Regions from separate parts of the Homo sapiens genome. Here region 1 is linked to region 2. The links are contacts of gene promoters, found by promoter capture Hi-C in blood cells and fetal thymus (Javierre and others, 2016). All regions are on one chromosome and are shown on one strand. The core of a region is centred on a gene start or on the middle of the fragment in contact, and the rest is flanking DNA. Distances in the headings are between cores, read along the strand shown.

What was found. The method cuts DNA at HindIII sites, captures the fragments that hold promoters and counts their contacts. A CHiCAGO score of 5 or more calls a contact.
Region 1: a fragment that was not itself captured here is called in contact with the fragment with the promoter of UBE2L6 in region 2 in 1 of 17 cell types (neutrophils); the score reaches 5.7 in neutrophils.

The regions. Positions count from the first base shown.
Region 1 is chr11:57,698,588-57,701,287 of GRCh38, forward strand. ZDHHC5 (zDHHC palmitoyltransferase 5) reads left to right here. Exons shown (of 12, transcript NM_015457.3): 11 at 1-831; 12 at 1,279-2,595. The coding sequence ends at 1,444. Among named protein-coding and RNA genes, the nearest start is that of MED19, 12 kb to the right of the region's middle. The HindIII fragment of the contact is 3,103 bases long and covers 1-2,700 here.
Region 2 is chr11:57,566,347-57,569,046 of GRCh38, forward strand. It overlaps UBE2L6 (ubiquitin conjugating enzyme E2 L6), which reads right to left and starts at 1,326. Exons shown (of 4, transcript NM_004223.5): 1 at 1,239-1,326. The coding sequence starts at 1,265. RefSeq lists an enhancer at 1-76 and a silencer at 1,330-1,689. The HindIII fragment of the contact is 19,025 bases long and covers 1-2,700 here.

The DNA of each region.
Region 1 (2,700 bases), core at 166-2,665, 130 kb after region 2:
AACCTCAATTGCAGAGAGCAGCCGTCACCCCAGCTACCGCTCAGAGCCCAGCTTGGAACCAGAGAGCTTCCGTTCTCCTACCTTTGGCAAAAGTTTTCACTTCGATCCACTATCCAGTGGCTCACGCTCCTCCAGCCTCAAGTCAGCCCAGGGCACAGGCTTTGAGCTGGGCCAGTTGCAATCCATTCGTTCAGAGGGCACCACCTCCACCTCCTATAAGAGCCTGGCCAACCAGACACGCAATGGAAGCCTATCTTATGACAGCTTGCTCACACCTTCAGACAGCCCTGATTTTGAGTCAGTGCAGGCAGGGCCTGAGCCAGACCCACCTTTAGGCTATACCTCTCCCTTCCTGTCAGCCAGGCTGGCCCAGCAACGGGAAGCTGAGAGGCACCCACGTTTGGTGCCAACTGGCCCAACACACCGAGAGCCCTCACCAGTCCGTTACGACAATCTGTCGCGCCACATTGTGGCCTCTCTCCAGGAACGAGAGAAGTTGCTGCGCCAGTCACCCCCACTCCCGGGCCGTGAGGAAGAACCAGGCTTGGGGGACTCAGGCATTCAGTCAACACCAGGCTCGGGCCATGCCCCTCGTACTAGTTCCTCCTCAGATGATTCAAAGAGATCACCTTTGGGCAAGACTCCACTGGGACGCCCAGCTGTCCCCCGTTTTGGCAAGCCAGATGGGCTAAGGGGCCGGGGAGTAGGGTCCCCTGAACCAGGCCCAACAGCCCCATACCTGGGCCGATCGATGTCTTACAGCAGCCAAAAAGCCCAACCTGGTGTCTCTGAGACAGAAGAAGTGGCCTTGCAGCCATTACTGACACCCAAGTAAGTATTAGTACTATCCTGACCCTTAGCCAATTTCAAATTAGCATACTGCTCTGCAAAAGCTATCAGGGCTTCTGTTGTACATCCTAATGTAGGTGGACCCAGGGGTATCCTGGTAGCTCTTTATTTTCACTTTGACTCTACCTGCCTTCATGGGCAATTCCTGTTAAGAGACTGAAGATTAATACTTTTTCCATAATGCTATCTTCCTAAAAGTATTTGCTTGGGAGTAAGTACATGTGATAGCTGTTACTAGAGAGTAGTAGTACATAGGAGAGATTGGGAATCAGGCTTATTTTAAGCAGGGCAATAAAGGGGAATGTTTGGGTAAGAAAGTATGGATATAGAAAAGAACATCATTTTTTTCTCTGAACCTTTGAAACTGTCTCCCTTTCCAATGTTTTCTGTCCCATTTCCTGACACCTACGTCTTGTCTCTTCTTTCCAGAGATGAAGTACAGCTGAAGACCACCTACAGCAAATCCAACGGGCAGCCCAAGAGCTTAGGCTCAGCCTCCCCTGGCCCAGGCCAGCCACCTCTCAGTAGCCCCACGAGGGGAGGAGTCAAGAAGGTGTCAGGGGTTGGTGGTACCACCTATGAGATTTCGGTGTGAGCCTTCGGCACCTCCCCTCCCCAACGCCTCTGCGCCTACACCAAAGGGCCCCAGGTGGCCACCTTCCTTCCCTCAAGGGGCTCCCCTCCCGTGCATGGACATTTTTTAAACCACCGATTCCAAGAGGATGAGGAGTGTTTTCTAAAATGCAGTAGGCTTGGGGAGTCGGAGAGTTGGGGCCCTGAGACTGGGGTAGCAACCCCCCCTTTTATCTTTTAAGACCTTCCCTTCCTTGATCCCTGGACCAGACTCAGTGGACATTTGTGCAATTGCTCGCCCTGGAGGGAACCAGATCATTTTTAAACCAGAAATAATTTTTTTTATTATTGTTACGGATTCTATTTTTTTCCTCTTCTGCGTTACCAGGTGTGTGTGTACATATAATATATATATATATATATTATAAATATCAAAGAAATTATATATCTATCCTGGGATGGGAAAATGAGGGAGGGATACATATACGGAGGGGGATCTTACTCTTCCCATTCCTCAGACCAGCAGGAAAAGAGGGGAGACGTCAGTCTTTTTCCTGTGGTTCCCTCTCATTTGTCCCAGTTACTAACTACGGAAATAGCATCCTCTGCTGGTGCTAAGTGTGATTAGGAAGAAGCCTGGGGAGAGGTGAGTCTGGAATTTTGGTCACAAGAGGGAAGGACTTGGAGAGGAGAATTAGTTTTCTAGGCTCATTGGCATTTAGTTTCCCTAGGAAAGGGGTCAAAACTTCAAGACACTGGTGGTGGTGGGAGATCAGGAAAATAACTTGGCCTAGCTCAAACAATATTGGATAATCCCCTCCTTGGGGGAGAGGGATTAGAGTGTGCTCCTACTGGCCCCTTGGAGCCTCCCCTAGCTTACACAGTTAACTTGATTTTAAAATCCAAGGCCAGGAGAGAAGAATCCAAAAAGCAATATTTTTCATCACATGCCAAAAACGGGGGATAGAGAGAAGGAGTGGCAGGCCTAGGCCCCTCCGATTGTCCCTTGGGGGTTACCCCTCAGCCCACCTCACTATGGTGCTGGGTAGAGGGGATACCTGGGTTCTAACCTCTAAATAGGGGAGATCCCAGCCTCCACAAAGAGGCCCTTTTATTTTTTATTCTGATTAGCCATTTTAAACCAACGAGGAATAAAAAGAAATCCTGATCTAACCAGCGCCCCCTGACTTGTGTTATTTTGTCTGGTTGAGACAGGGTGAACGATCTCTGGTGGGAAGTTATCAGTGACAACCTCATAAACTTCTCTGGTCCCAGCCC
Region 2 (2,700 bases), core at 76-2,575:
GCCTGCAGGCTGGAGGCCTGTGGACCTGGTTTCATATTCCAGTCCCATTGCTCCTTACTGAAAGACTCTGGACAAGCAAGTTATTTCCTCTGTGCCTCAATTTCCTCATTTGTAAAATGCGGGTATATATTACTTATCTCACAGAACTGCTGTGCGAATTAGATGAAATAACCATGTAAACCGTTTGGCATGTAATGGTTCCAATGCAATAAATTCTGGCTCCCATCTCTCTTCCACTTGGCTGGAAAGACCCTCTGCCTCATTTTGCTGCCAACCTCCAGATTTAGTATCTAGGCCAAGCCTGCTCTGGGCATCCCAGTCTGAGGCCATTTTCTTCTCAGAGGCTGAGGGTAGCAGGCACCCTCTTCCTAGAGCCTGCCCCTCCACCCTGCAGACTGGAAGGGGCACTTCTGAAAGACTTGGGGTGCCAGACTCACTTCACCAGGATCACCTTCCTCCCTAATCCATCTCCAAACACCCTGGGTTTTCCCACCTTCTGGAGGAAACTGCCCCCTCCCCATCCTTCCAGATCTTATTTCAAATTGTGTCCCTGATAGGAACAAAATTCAACAAGGGCCGGATTTGTGTTCATCTCTGCCCGCCCCCCCCCCCCTCCTAGAACAGGGCCAGCACATGTAGGCATTCAACACTTGTAGAACTCACGAACGCAAGCCACCTACTCCAGGAGGCCTTCCAGGTCCACCTCCGCATCTTTTCCTCCAGAGAATACTCAGGGAACTTTGTCCCAAATTCTAATCAGCATTCCGTGTTTCTCAGGACTCTAGTAATACAGGCATCAAATTATGGGATGGGCTATGGGCTTATTCCAAGGCAAGGACTTCATCCTGGTCATCTGTGTTCATAACCCACCACCAGCAGTAGCAGAATGCCTGGCACCAAGATGCCAAGGACTTTTCCTGCACTGGAGATGCACCCAGTTGTTATCACAAGTTTCAGGCAGGAAAAGCGAAATTGAAACCAGTTTTGGGGGAGCCGGCTCATCTTCACCACGCGAACGGCTCAAGCAGAGGCCTCCAAACCCCCAAAACCCCAGCTCTGGCCACTCTTGCAGGCCAGTCCTCCTCTGAGTAGAGGGCGGGGAGGACAGGGATTCAGCCAGCCCTGGTGCCCAGACAAATAAATAAATGTGCTCGGAGAGCCGCGGAGGGGATGGAGGGAGGAGGGAATGCGGGAGGCGAGGGGAGCCAAGAGAAAGGGGTCATCCTATACGCGGTTACCTTCACCACTCGCATGCTCGCCATCATGTCGGGACCGAGTGTGTGGCACCCGTGGCCTCCAGCAGGACCGAGCTCCGACCCGCGACACAGCGCGCCCCGCCCCGCCCCGGGGACCCCACCCCCGGCAGCCCCGCCCACCCCTCCTCCAGCCGTCGCTGCGTGGGCCTCCCCGCACCCGCTCCGGCGAGGCCAGGAGGCCGTCGAAGGACGACCCGCCGGACAACCGCCCGATCCCCGCGCGGAAGGCTCGGACCCGGGACTCACGGTCTTTGTGCGGAGACGGGGGCGGGCCTCGGGGCGCACGGCTTTGCTGATCCCTGCCTCCCGCGGGGTGCGCCGTGCACCGGCGGCGAGCGCTCAGGGGCGCTGGGGGGCGCTCATACGGGTTCCAGTCTTCGCTCCGCCGGCGGCCGCACCGGGAGCTCTCCGGTCTTTGTCAGCCCCCTGCACGCCGCCCCAAATACACACTCGCCCTGAATAAATAAGGGATGCTCGCTGTACAGACGCAGCTCCGTGACAGTTCTCAGCGGCCTCCACTATCGGACTGCCGCCTTGAGCCCCTGCCCCAGCAAGCTGCCGGAGCCGCCGAGCCTGCCGCCTTCCCTCCATGGGCCCAGCGCTCCATCTCCGAAACTGCGTGGGGGATGGCGTAGACCTGTGCCCTCCGAGCACCGCTCCCCGGCAGTCGGGGATCCTTTGTGCTGCCCGGCGTTCGGCGCGGGCTGCAACGTTTCTCCCCGTGGCTTGGGGCAGAGCACCGCAAGGAGGCGCTGTTGGACCCTTTCTCTTTTGCTTTGGGGGTTCGGTCTACCATCATTCAGTCCTTTACTAGGTTTAGTATTTACTAAGTGCCTACTGTATGCTGGTTTGGGAAACAGTTGGTGGGGGAAGCCCCAAGAAGGACTCAGGAGCCTCCTTTCCAAGAGAGAGTCTGCTTCCCCTCCCTTACTTTACTACTGGTCCATTACAAGCTGTGGGCCTAATGTGTGCCCCCATGCACAGCTGGAGTCCCCAACCCTCTGTGCAAGGACAGAGTACTTGCAGCCCCTGAGCACCAAGCAGCATCTGGGGAAGATGAGACTTGTTGGGAGGGCCGATCCCCTCCTTCTCACCCTTCCCTACCCCCGTTTAGTCCAGACGAGAAAGGAAATCAGTATATTTTGAGCACCAGTTTGTGATCTCAGTACCTCACAGTTTTTTTGTTTCTTGTTTTTCTGACAGAGTTTCACTGTCGCCCTGACTGGAGTTCAGTGGCGATATCGGCTCACTGCAACCTCCGCCTCCCGGTTCAAGCTGTTCTCGTGCCTCAGCCTCCTGAGTAGCTGAGATTTACAGGCGCGCGCCACCACGACCGGCTCATTTTTGTATTTTTAGTAGAGTCAGGGTCTCGAGCTCCTGGTTTCAAGTAATCCACCCGCCTCGGCCTCCCAAAGTGTTGGAATTACAGGCGTGAGCCACCGTA